Regions from separate parts of the Homo sapiens genome. Here region 2 is linked to region 1. Evidence: promoter capture Hi-C in human tissues and cell types (Jung and others, 2019). All regions are on one chromosome and are shown on one strand. Each heading gives the region's core, a stretch centred on a gene start or on the middle of the fragment in contact. The rest is flanking DNA. Distances are from core to core; before and after follow the strand shown.

Region 1 (6,336 bases), core at 2,739-5,238:
ATTTGGCCAATTATGGTACAACTATTTCACCGAGTATTATGTAGTCACTAAGTAGTTAATCACAAAGATGATATGACAACAAGGTTAAATGTTTTTGGATATTAAAACAACAAAAAAAGAAAAAAATCCCCCCAAAACTCAGCATGCATTATCTTGGAAAATATGCATATGTGAACAAAAGAGGAAGGAGAACATACAAAGATGAAAATAGTTATGTGGCACAGTGAAACTGGACGAGGAGAATTATATGTGATTATTTTTTAATTTTATTTATTTATTTTGAGACAGAGTCTTGCTCTGTTGCCCAGGCTGGAGTGCACTGGCCTGGTCTCGGATCACTGCAACCCCCGCCTCCCGGGTTCAAGCGATTCTAGTGCCTCAGCCTCCTGAGCAGCTGGAATTACAGATGCACGGCTTCCGGCTACTTTTCGTATTTTTAGTAGAGACAGAGTTTCACCATGTTGCCCAGGCTGGTCTCCAACTCCTGACCTCAAGTGATCTGCCCACCTTGGCCTCCCAAAGTGCTGGGATTATATGCGTCAGCCATTGTGTCCGGCCAATTATAGATGATTTTTATATCATTATTCTAAAGGTCAGTTTCCACCTAAAATGTAAAATATGCAAGCCAAAAGTGCCACTTGTAGAAATCTATCCTACATAACCACTAGCATGAGTGCAAAAAAGACAAGAACAGTTACTGCAGCAGTGTCTGGAATAAAAAAACTATACACCACCTAAATGTACATATGGGACTAGGATACGATACAGACCTTAAAAAGAATGAAGTGGACCTGCATATAATAACACAGAAAAATGTGTGATATTTTTAAGTGAACAGAACAAGTTGCAGAATAAGATATATACATATATATCTTAAAGTCAACTTCTGTTTTCTCTTATTTTTTTCTCACCCAGGGTGGAGTGCAGTGGTGCAGTCACGGCTCACTGTAGCCTTGACCTCCTGGGCTCAGGCGATCTCTCCACTTCAGCCTTAAAGTAAAGTTAACATATACAAATATATATATATTCCAGTTTCATCTAATAAACAGCTTATACATAAATGTGCTTATGCACCAAACACATCTGGAAGGAAACACACCCAACTGCCAACAGAAGTTGCCACGGGGTAGTAAGATGGGGACCACATAAACTTTCTATATTATATCCTCTGGTACTGCTTCAAATTGTTAACATACATGGTGGTTTACGCCCATAATCCCAGCATTTTTGGAGGCGGAGGTGGGCGGATCACCTGAGGTCATGAGTTTGAGACCAGCCTGGTCAACATGGTGAAACCCTGTCTCTACTAAAAATAGAAAAAAAACCCTGTCTCTACCAAAAATAGAAAAATTAGCCAGGCATGGTGGCATGCTCCTGCAGTCCCAGCTACTCCGGAGGCTGAGGCAGGAGAATCACTCGAACCCGGGAGGCAGAGGTTGCAGTGAGCTCAGATCACACCACTGCACTCCAGCCTGGGCGAAAGGGCAAGACTCTGTTTCAAAAGAAAAAAAAAAAAAGTTAAACTAGGCATCTAAATTTGCATTGCTTTTATGAGTATAACCACGGAGTAGCATAATACAGGTTCTAGAAAGCTACAGTTTAAGTAAGAAAAAGGGGGGCCATATAAGTGCTTGTATAGATGCATAAGAAACTAACAGCTGGGTGTGGTGGCTCACGCCTGTAATCCTAACACTTTGGGAGGCCAACGTGGGTGAATCACTTGAGCCCAGGAGTTCAAGACCAGCCTGGGCAACATGGCAAAACCCCAACTCTACAAAAAAAAAATACAAAAAAATTAGCAGGGTGTGGTGGCGTGCACCAGTAGTCCCAGATACTTGGGGAATTAAGGCAGGAGGATCACTTGAGCCCAGGAGGGTCAAGTTTGCAAGAAAAAAAAAAAAAGAAACTAACAATGGTTGTTTCTAAAGGAGGAGAGACTGAGACTGGGGGTTAGGAGAGTGGGAATTTTATTTTTCACTTAGATCCTTTTACATCATTTATTTTTTTACTGTGTGCAAGTATTACCTGTAAACAATCCTAAAATTCGTATGGAACCACAAAAGACTCAGAAAAGCCAAAAGAAGCCTGGACGAAAAGAACAAAGCTTGAGGTATCACACTACCTGATTTCAAAATATACCAGAAAGGTATAGTAACCAAAAGAGCATGGTATTGGTATAAAACACAGACCAATGGAATAGAATAGAGGACCCAGAAATAAATCCACTTATTTACGGCCAACTGATTTTCGACAAAGGCATCGAAAAAACAAAACAAAACAAAAACAACAACAAAAACGAAAAAAAAAACCTACCATAAATCAGCAATACCACTACTGGGTATTTATTCAAAGGAACGGAAATTAGTACATCAAAGGCATCCCTACATCCTCATGTTCATATTGCAGCACTATTCATAATAGCTAAATTATGGAATTAGCGTCCATCAATAGGTAAATGGATAAAGAAAATGTGGGCCAGGCGTGGTGGCTCACGCCTGTAATCCCAGCACTTTGGGAGGCTGAGGCGAGCAGATCACGAGGTCAGGAGATCGAGACCACCGTGTTGAGGCGGACTAACACGGTGAAACCCCGTCTCTACTAAAAATACAAAAAATTAGCTGGGCGTGGTGGTGGGCGCCTGTAGTCCCAGCTACTCGGGAGGCTGAGGCGGGAGAATCACTTGAACCTGGGAGGCGGAGGTGGCAGTGAACTAAGATGGTGCCACTGCACTCCAGCCTGAGCGACAGAGACACACTCCATCTCAAAAAAAAAAAAAAAAAAAGAAATAATGAATGTTTAAGGTGATGGATATTCTATAATAAATATAGCCTGATTTGATCATTACACATCATATGCATGTATCAAAATATTACATGTATATCTACAACATAAATGTGTACAACTATTATATATCAATTTTTTTTACAGCTTAAGAAGTGATGTGAAAAATGAAGTTATACATATTTGAAGCATTATTACATGTTTGTAATGATGTGGAGATATTGTGGTGTAATAATGAAAAACACAGAACCCACAATTGCACATTCAATAGGGGCTAAACTGTATAAACCAAAAACAAGCAAAAAAGACTAGAAGTCATATGACTACTGTAAGTGGTTGCCTCTAGGTGATGACACGGTTTCTTTTTTCAATTTTTTTATTACAAGCTCTAGATTTCTAAATAAGATTTTTGAAAAAGTAATATATTCACATGGCTTAAAATTTGAAACTTTTTCAAATTTTGCCCAAGCTGTGAGGATTACAAACACAAAACCTGTAACGGCGTTGAGAACCCACAGCTGCAGCAAGCAAGGTAGAAAGCAAGCTTTGGGATCCCCAAGAGCAGACCCCGCCCGTTCCTGACTCTGGCACCCAGTCCCAGCGGCTAGAAAGAACCACGCCGACAGAGTGGCGGCCGTCAAGCTTCTAGGGTTCAAATCCATCTCCACTATTTCCTGGGGCAAAGCACTTGGCTTCTCGGGGCGCTGAATAACAGATATGTATAACAAAATGGGACTAAAGATTGTATCTACCTCACAGAGCTGGGAGGAGGCGGAGGAAATACAAGATACATAAAGTGCTTGGCAGAGCCTGCCACAAACTGAGCTCCCGGGAAACGTTGCCAGGGTTGCCATCGCGCACCAAGGCCCCAAAACTCTAGGCTGCAGGGCCGCCGCCCACCCCTCGCCCATCATCTCTTCCTGGCCGAGGCTGGGCTCCCGCTTCCGGTCAAGGGGCAGCGGGATCCGGCGGCCCCGCCTCGGTCAGGCTTTAGAGGCCTCCGCCGCCGGGTTCCACCCTCAAGTCGGCTGGGGCCCGGGCCCGGCCACGCCCAGCCACCACCGATTCCCTGTCCGGAGCTCTGAGATCCCCTCATCCTCGGAAGACTGAAGGCCTGGCGTGGGGTGGTGGGCGGCCGCCAGCCACAAGACCCCGGCGCACGCTCACCATTTCCGACCGATCCGGTAGCCCCGCGTAGCGAACACTTAGCGAGTCCTGTGCCTTTCTGCGCCTGCGCAAAGGTTTCTGTCAAAACGGACAGCTCTAGCTGCCTATCAGGAGCCAGCGTGAGGCGGGGGCGGGCGAGCCGATCTTGGCTCCGCCAGGATTCTTGGAAAATCTGCTTTCCACTGTGGCAAAGCGAAAAGCTAAGGAGCAGTGCGCTAAGCTGTGGAAAATTCCCAACTCCAGCCGTGCAGAAAAGATGCTGGTTCTGGCTGGACGCGGTGGCTTACGCCTGTAATTCCAGCACTTTGGGAGGCCGAGTCGGAAGGATTGCTTGAGCCCAAGAGTTCGAGACCAGCCTGGGCAACATGGAGAGACCCCTTCTCTACTAAAAAATAAACAAAATTAGCCGGGCGTGGTGGCGCGCTCGTGTAGTTCCAGTTACTCCAGAGGCTGAGGTAGGAGGATCGCCTGACCAGGAGTTCGAGGCTGCAGTGAGCCGAGATTGCGCCACTGCACCCCAGCCTGGGCGACAGAGCAAGAGACCCTGACTAAAACAAAACAAAACAAAAACCATGCTGGTTCTCGGTATCGGAAGAGGCTTTCAGTGCTGGTTCTCGGTATCGGAAGAGGCTTTCAGCTCTCAATGGAGGTCTAAGCTGGTTCTGGAGTCCCTGAGTGGAGCGTGGTGGGAGGGTATGAAGGCAAGTGGGACGGTTGCTGAGACCCGCTTTGCGCCCAGACTGAGCCAGAGAGAGGCCCAGGGCCAAAATGCGCTTCGGGATCGGGCAGGCCTGGGGTGGGGCTGGAGTCAGGTACCTCGAGTCTCCGGGTAAGATGCCGTGCAAGCTCGGAGATGAATTGGTTAGGGCTGGCCTGGGAGTCTTTAGAATCCGAGCTCAGCCCCGCCTCGCGTTACCTAGCAGAAGGCACTTCACATCTGTGTGTTCTGTCTTGTTCTCACCTCTGAAAGGGGGACTCTTCCCAGAGCCCTATGTTGTCCTGTTCCGGCAGGCCGCAAACGTTTCTGGGTCCTCTAGGAGTAAATAACTTCTGTTAAAACATGCTGCCGTTTAGTGAACCCTGTGCCACATTACTGTGCTGAACACGCACATAACGTTATCTCCGGTAGCTTCAGGGAAGTATCGGTAACCTCGATACTTTATAAATGCTGTTTCTCCCAGGCACTGTAGCTTGCTGGATTCAACGATGATCTAACTCCAAAGTTTCATTCCACAGTAGCTGCTCTTCAGTGAGGAAGGATTTGGTTCTCCTTCCAGGAGTGTCTGCATGTTAAGAGGATTGACTTTACTGCGAAGAAACCTAGCAGACACCACCGTAACCAGATCAAAGTTAGTATTACTGGCAAGGGGAGATATTGATGCCGTGTGCCCCGATAAAAATGCGTTAAGGGCACATCACCTCCGAGTCATTTTCCACAAAAACTCCCAGCCTTAAACCATGAGAAAATTTCACTAAATCCAGTGTGAGGGATGTTCTACAAGATACCTGTACCCCGCCCCCGCCCCCCAAAATCTCAAAGTCATGAAAGCAAGGAATGAATGCGGAACTGTCACAGATTAGAGGAGTAAGGAGAAAGAAAAATAACATGGGTGGGAAAATTGGTGAAATCTGAGTAAGGGCTGTAGTTTAGTGTTATTTTTACCAGTGTTAATTTATTAGTTTTGGTAATTCTAGCATGGTTATATGGGATCATAACATTGGAGAAAGCTGGGTGAAGACTGTGCAGGAACTCTTAACCATTTTTGCAACAGCTCTGTAAATGTAAAATTATTTCAAAATAAATTTTTAAAAGGACTGGATCCAAAGGAATTTCTATTGAATGCTGGAAACATTAGGAAAGCATTTAGCAAGGGGAAGAAGTGCTGCAGAGACTGGACCCTAAAACATCCTGGAAGATAAGCACTGGAAGAATCACCACTGTCTTGCCCATGGAGAACCAGACTGAGAGGAGTGAAAGGATTTTAACAGATTACAATCCCAGAAGCAAAAAAGAGAATGGCCAATAGTTCATGTGACAGGAGCCAAAATGAGAATGAAGGAGGAGCTGGAATAGGACCAAGAATGTCCCGGAGTGGCAGGCTTAGAGTTTTGGCCCGGCGCAGTGGCTCACACCTGTAATCTCAGCACTTTGGGAGGCCAAGGTGGGCGGATCACGAGGTCAGGAGTTCGAGACCAGTCTGGCCAACATAGTGAAAGCCCCTCTACTAAAAATACACAAAAAATTAGCCGGGGGTGGTGGTGTGCGCCTGTAACCCCAGCTATTCGGGAGGCTGAGGCAGGAGAATCGCGTGAACCCAGGAGGCGGCGGTTGCAGTGAGCCAAGATCGCCCCACTGCACTCCAGCCTGGGCGACAGAACAAGACTCCG
Region 2 (6,336 bases), core at 3,837-6,336, 750 kb before region 1:
GCATGTGCCTATAATCCCAACTACTCGGGAGGCTGATGAGGCAGGAGGATCATTTGAGACTAGGAGGTTGAGGCTGCAGTGAGCTATGATCATGCCACAGCATTCCAGCCTAGGCGACAGAGTGAGACCTTATCTCTTAGAATTTAAAAAAAAATTTTTTTTGAAGGTTTTCTTTCCATCTTCTTGCCCTCGAGCCCTGTGAAAAAGTGGCTTTGAAACATGCATGCCCATCATTGCTTTTCAGATTGGGTAACTCAAGGCGTCCCTGGAGTACACTGAGGATAAGTGTTTGAGAAATGCTGTCTGAAGGAATGAAGTCAGTCTATGACAACGTCTCTCTGCCGTGAATCATTCCTGCAGATGAAAAAGTGTGACTTGGCAGCTGGTAAGTGAATTAATGGACCACGTGAACATGGGTAGATATGAGGCAGTTGTCTGCCACCAGGTGTTTTTTCAAACCTGGACGCCCATGGGCACTGAGTATGCCCGTGGGCACTGGTGAGGACCACATAAAACCGGCTCCCCATGCCCACCCTGGCCCGGCCCTTACGTACATCCTTCCTTGCTGATGAAGGCTCCTTGGGGAGCCTGTGGGATGCCCTTCCACACGGTGATGGGCTTAGGGTAGCCAGGGTCCGTGGCCCGCCGCTCCTCGCTGTAGCGCCAGTACCGCTCGCCTTTGAAAAAGTAGGTCTTGCCCACAGGTTCCCAGCGCAGAGCTGTGTCAATGCCTTCACGGGGCAAACAGCTGCCCAGCTCCCCCAGGCTGTGGGGGTACCCAGGCTCCACCGTCACCTCCTTAAACACCCAATACTTGTCACCTGTGGCCAAGAGGAGCCCAGGATCAGCTTCCCCAGTCACTCAGTGCCGTTTGCCCATCTTCAGGGTGTCAGGTGAAAACAGTCTGATGCCCTCAGCCCCTTGGCCCAGTTAGAGTTGGGAAGGGCACGAAGCCTGAGGCCAGTCACAGATCCTGGACAACTTGCCTCTGCTGCCTGGGCTCCGAGTCCCACCCTCTTTTGTTCATGTGACTTGCTCCTCTCTCCTCTCTGGTGATCTCAGCCACTTACATGACTTTGCATATGCACTACCACTCCCCAAACCTGCTACCAGTGACACCCGACTCTGAGGCTCTCCCACTGGACCTGAGCAGCAGAGCCAGAAACCCTGACCTCCCTCGGCCTACCGGCAGCTCTGCATTGGCTGGCTCCCCAGAGCTCCTCATCTGCACCACAGAGGGGCTCCCTCCTCATCACCTTCTGCCTCCCAGGTCCCCAACAGGGAGTCCTAGCCTCACTGTTGACCCTCTCTTTCCTTCTCCTCTCAGTATTCAGCCACTTCTTTTTTTTAAGATGGAGTTTGGCTCTTGTTGCCCAGGCTGGAGTGCAATGGTGTGATCTCAGCTCACCACAACCTCCACTTCCTGGGTTCAAGCGATTCTCCTGCCTCAGCCTCCTGAGTAGCTAGGATTACAGGCACGTGCCACCATGCTTGGCTAGTTTTTGTAATTTTAGTAGAGACGTGGTTTCACCATGTTGGTCAGGCTGGTCTCAAACTCCTGACCTCAGGTGATCTGCCAGCCTTGGCCTCCCAAAGTGCTGGGATTTCGGGCGTGAGCCACTGCGCCTGGCCGAGTATTCAGCCACTTCTGAGGCCCTCTGACTCTCCTGGCAGCTGTCCCCTGCCCTTCAGCTGCACGGCTCCTCCCTCATTTGGGCCTCATGAGTGGCGCGCTCCAGAACCACCTCAGAAATGGCTGCCCTGCCCCTGCCATGTCTGTCACCTCCTGCCCTCTGGCTCTCTGCTGCTCGGAAACATTCCATGAATTTCCAGCCTTGGCCTAATGGATCAAGACCACATTCTGGCCTGGCAGCCAGGGCTCTTCAGGATTTGCCTCCAAATGACCTTTCTGGGCCATTTCTCACAGCTTTCCAAGGCGGGGCCTCCGTGGCCATCAGGTGGGCCTTCTAAGCCCTGTGGCCGTCCGTACACATCCCAGCCCTGCTCCTTTATTCAGCCGTTGTCCCTCTGGAATGCCTTCCTTGCTTCTCACTATCTGTATCTCACCCATCTGAGGTCTGGCCCGAGTCAAGATAACTGTCATGAAACAACCTAGCACAGTGCTGGGTACAGGGTGGGCACCTTAGCTCCCTCCCACACCCTCCCCCGACCTCCCCAGCTTGAGTGACCTCTTCCCTCTGGGTTCTTACAGAACTGACCCGATGGCCTCCCATGAGGTACTGGGTGGTCTTCAATTGCTTGTCCCACACTCTACTTCATGTGGACGAAGCTGGTCACCCCACCAATCTCGGCACATACAGATTCTCAGTCTCACTTTCTGACTTGATTTGTCAGAGGTCAGTGTCTCCGTTAGACTAGAGGGGCCCTCTGAGGACATCTGCCTCCCACCCCGCCTCTTCCAGTTTAGATGGGAAAAAGGAGGTCCCAAGACCTTGGGCAGGGAACTGTCCCACAGCACAGTCTACATTACCTTTGAAGAAGACAAATCTCCCATCGGCCCTTTCATAGGCTGCGTCGATGCGGGCAGGCAGGCCCTTCCAGAACTGCTCGATCTGCATGGGGTAGCCCTCCTGCACTCGGTTATTGCGCAGACGCCAGAACCAGCGATCCTGGGAGGAAGCGGGAGAGGGGGAGAGAGGTGTGTCAGGCCCTGCCTCCGAACCCAGTGATTGCAGCTGTGGGGCTTAGGTCCCAACAGCCCAGCCCTCCACCGAGACTGTCCATTAGCTGCTTCTGACTTTTAAAGCCCTGGGAGGAAGACAGGATGCTCCTGTAACTGTCTTCAATTCAGCCTCCTGCTGACTCTTGCTGCTGGGTGGACAATGAGACAAACAGCAGACAGGCCTGGTGTGGAAAAGGAGGTGTGAGGGAGCCGGAAAGGATGATGTTGGGGCCTGGAGTGGCCACATGGGGGCAGTGGAGCGTCACTGACATCAGCCAGACTGGTCCTCGGGACAGTGGGAGGCTGGGGTGGTCACTGAGCCTGGGCCGAGCGCCCTCCATGAGGCTGGCTCCATCCAGCAGGGCCAGGATCATGGAAGCCAAGTCATGGGAATTCCCTCGAGACCTGGGCATGAATTCACATTCCTCCATTTATAGCTGCATGACCTAGGCCTCACCTGCAAGTGCAGGTAATAATGGAGAATCAGATGAGAGATTCTAGGCAAAATGCCCAGACCAGTACGGGGCACACAGTCCATGTTGAGTAAATGGCAGCTAAATAGTCCGAGTCCAGTAAAAACGCCTCTTGTAACTGGTGCCTCAGTCTTGGGCTGGTACACAAGCAGTCTAGGCAAGGCCTGTAGCCTCCAGGCCTCAGTTTTCTTTCTTTTTTTTTTTTTTTAGATGGAGTCTCGCTCTGTCACCCAGGCTGGAGTGCAGTGGCGCAATCTCGGCTCACTGCAAGCTCCGCCTCCCAGGTTCATGCTATTCTCCTGCCTCAGCCTCCTGAGTAGCTGGGACTACAGGCGCCCGCCACCACACCCGGCTAATTTTTTATATTTTTAGTAGAGATGGGGTTTCACCATGTTAGCCAGGATGGTCTTGATCTCCTGACCTTATGATCCGCCCTCCTTGGCCTCCCAAAGTGTTGGGATTGCAAGGCGTGAGCCACTGCGCCCAGCCTCCAGGCCTCAGTTTTCTTATGTGTAAATGGGGATGATAAAACCCGGACCTGCCTATGAACGGTTCAGTTGGATCAAAGTAGAATGAGTGCAGAAGAAGAAGCATGATTTGTAAAAGATGGTACAAAAGCTAGTATTTTAAAAGGTGTTTTACAAAGCACTTTCACATCCAGGTTTTTGACCTTATTTTGACTTTCATGTCTCTGTTAAGTTGATCTGAGATATACGGAGTCTTAAGAAAGGCCAGGTGACTTGCCTAGAGCCACTCAGTGAGAAGCCAGACTGGGGCTGACTCACGCTGCCCGATTCCTGCGCAGTGCTCAGTGCGTGCTGGGAGAACTCCACAAGGGGAGCGAGGCAGCCTCTTTCACCATCCTGTGTGATGGAGCCACCCTGCCCAGATCCCCTTCAGAGAAGGGCTTGTTGCCCCAGTGGCCAGCAGTGTGGCCAGCAGGCAGTTTTCAACTGTCAGCCCCTTTGGGGATGTTCCCTGCTTCAGAGAGCTCTCCTCAGTCACTGGATGCCCTTCCTCATCCAGTGATTGAATGAGGTAGGGGTTATAATGTTCCAGATATTTTGGACCCAACGTAGGCTGAGTGACAGGCCACCGTAGCCCCAGAGCTCCCTGCGGGGGTGGCTGAGGCTGCCATGGGCCTCTGTTGCCACTTAACCTCTCCCTCTTCCCTGTCCTGCTTCCTTCTCCCCCTCACAAATGTTGATTCTGAAAGTACTCTCTAATCGAAATCCTGCATTCCAGACCCCACCTCAGAGTTCACTCCCCGAGAGCCCAACCTGCAACACGTCAAGCAGACTGCCACCCTGTCAGTCCATGGCTGATGGAGGACAGATGACAAGATATACCCTGGGCTGCTGCCAGTAGCAGCCCCTCAAGCCTTGGTAGGGTCTGGAGTCAGACTCAGCCACCACTGACCTAGCCCCTACTCCAAGTTGACCATCTTCAGAGCCGGGTACTCACTGGATCTTCACACACTCTTTGTTAGAGGAATGACTCCCCCAGGTTTCGGATGGAGAAACTGAGGTCCCAAGAAGGGTGGTCACAGACCAGAAGCCAGCTTCCAGCACTTTCTCCCAGCATTAACCCCAGGGGAGGTGAGGGATCACCCATCTTTCCCCCTCCCTCTTGGGAACAGTTGATTCACCCAGCAGCACTAGGAAGAGACCCCATGCCCTGGCCACTGGGCTAGCTCCTGTCCAGGCCCCATTGTAATCGAATCCCAAATCAGGAGCCTTCCCCAGCTCCATGATGTCGGGGAGGAGGAGGAAAGGTCAGGGGCCAGCTGGGTGGTGCCAATCCATTGGCCCTACCTTAAAGACAAACATCTCGCCCCGGAAGAGGGCCACTGTGTTGAAGTTGCCGTCACAGATGTTGGGTTTGGTGCCTGGTGTGGATGGCCGGTCCCCGAGGGGCGGCCGAGGGGGCCTGGGCTGGCGCTCGTGTTTCCTCTCCGATGGTGAGTGGATCCTGCGGACGGGGAGTGTAGGGAGTGGCCTTGTGGGCTCCAGAGGCTCGGCTGGGGGTCCTGGAGAGAGGAGCTGCATCTTAGAGAGGGGGCAGCCGTTTCCCGCCTCCCATTGCCAGTCTCAGCATCACCCAGGCAGCTCTGAGACAAGTCTGTCCCAGTTCAGCCTCCTGTTCCCTCTCCCCAGTTTAACTCCCCCAGTCTTTGAGAAAATGGATGAAAATAGCCATTAGAATGGGACTCTCATCTTTCCATCCCCGAATCTGGTATCTTCTCTTTTCTCTCTCCTGTTACAGAGCAATCATGTCCTTCCTTAGGGTCAGCGCTCTTCCTTAGGCCATACCCTCTTTGCCCCCTTCACACGCACTGGCCCCACTTCCTCACCCCCTTCATTTATTCTCTTTCCCACCCCAGTGCAGCTTCTACCCGTCACCCACTCCAACTGCTCTGCCAAGATCATCCAATGGTTACTTGACTCAGACTTTAATAAGCACATGCATCATCTGGGGATGTTGCTAAAATGCAGATGAGGGCTCAGAGGGCCTGGGGTGGGGCCTGAGAGTTTGCATTCCTTCACACTCTCAGGTGATGCTGATGCTGCTGGTCTGAAGACTACATTTTGAGCAGCAAGATTCATAGAAACACTTTCCTGGAAACACTCTCTTGGTTGTCCTCCTGCCTCATGGGCTGTTCTTTCTCAGTCTCCTTTGCTGGCTGCGTGTCCTCATCTGCCCTACTCTAGAGGCTGGCGTGCCCTTGGGTCCTCTTCTCTTCCGTCTCTACATTTTCATCCTTAGGTCAGTGCTTCTTCACTTGGGCTGCATATTAGGATCACCTTTGGGAGCTTTTCAAACTGGATGTTCAGGAAGCACCAGGCCAGCTCTCCAACTTTTTTTTTTTTTTTTTTTTTTTTGAGAAGGAGTCTCGCTCCGTCCCCCATGCTGGAGTGCAGTGGCGTGATCTAAGCTCACTGCAACCTCTGCCTCCCAGGTTCAAGTGATTCTCCTGCCTCATCCTCCCAAGTAGCTGGGACTACAGGCACGTACCACCACACCCAGGTGATTTTTTTTTTTTTTTTTTTTTTTTTTTAGCAGAGATGGGGTTTCACCATGTTGACCAGGCTGGTCTTGAACTCCTGACCTCAAGTGATCCACCCACCTTGGCCTCCCAAAGTGCTGGGATTACAGGCGTGAGCCACCACGCCCAATACC

The links. Contacts are between HindIII fragments. The study calls those that stand out against the background at their distance.
Region 2: a fragment that was not itself captured here is called in contact with the fragment with the promoter of DYNLRB1 in region 1 in 1 of the 25 tissues and cell types used here (lymphoblastoid cells).

The regions. Positions count from the first base shown.
Region 1 is chr20:34,514,074-34,520,409 of GRCh38, reverse strand. DYNLRB1 (dynein light chain roadblock-type 1) reads right to left here and starts at 3,988. Exons shown (of 4, transcript NM_014183.4): 1 at 3,949-3,988. The coding sequence starts at 3,951. RefSeq lists enhancers at 3,457-3,636, 3,303-4,168, 4,557-4,796, 4,907-4,966 and a silencer at 3,987-4,096. The HindIII fragment of the contact is 11,693 bases long and covers 2,716-6,336 here.
Region 2 is chr20:35,266,054-35,272,389 of GRCh38, reverse strand. It overlaps MMP24-AS1-EDEM2 (MMP24-AS1-EDEM2 readthrough), which reads left to right. Exons shown (of 15, transcript NM_001355008.2): 2 at 245-385. MMP24 (matrix metallopeptidase 24) reads right to left here. Exons shown (of 9, transcript NM_006690.4): 6 at 4,971-5,185; 7 at 2,492-2,630; 8 at 555-821. Among named protein-coding and RNA genes, the nearest start is that of MMP24-AS1-EDEM2, 8.9 kb to the left of the region's middle. The HindIII fragment of the contact is 9,806 bases long and covers 184-6,336 here.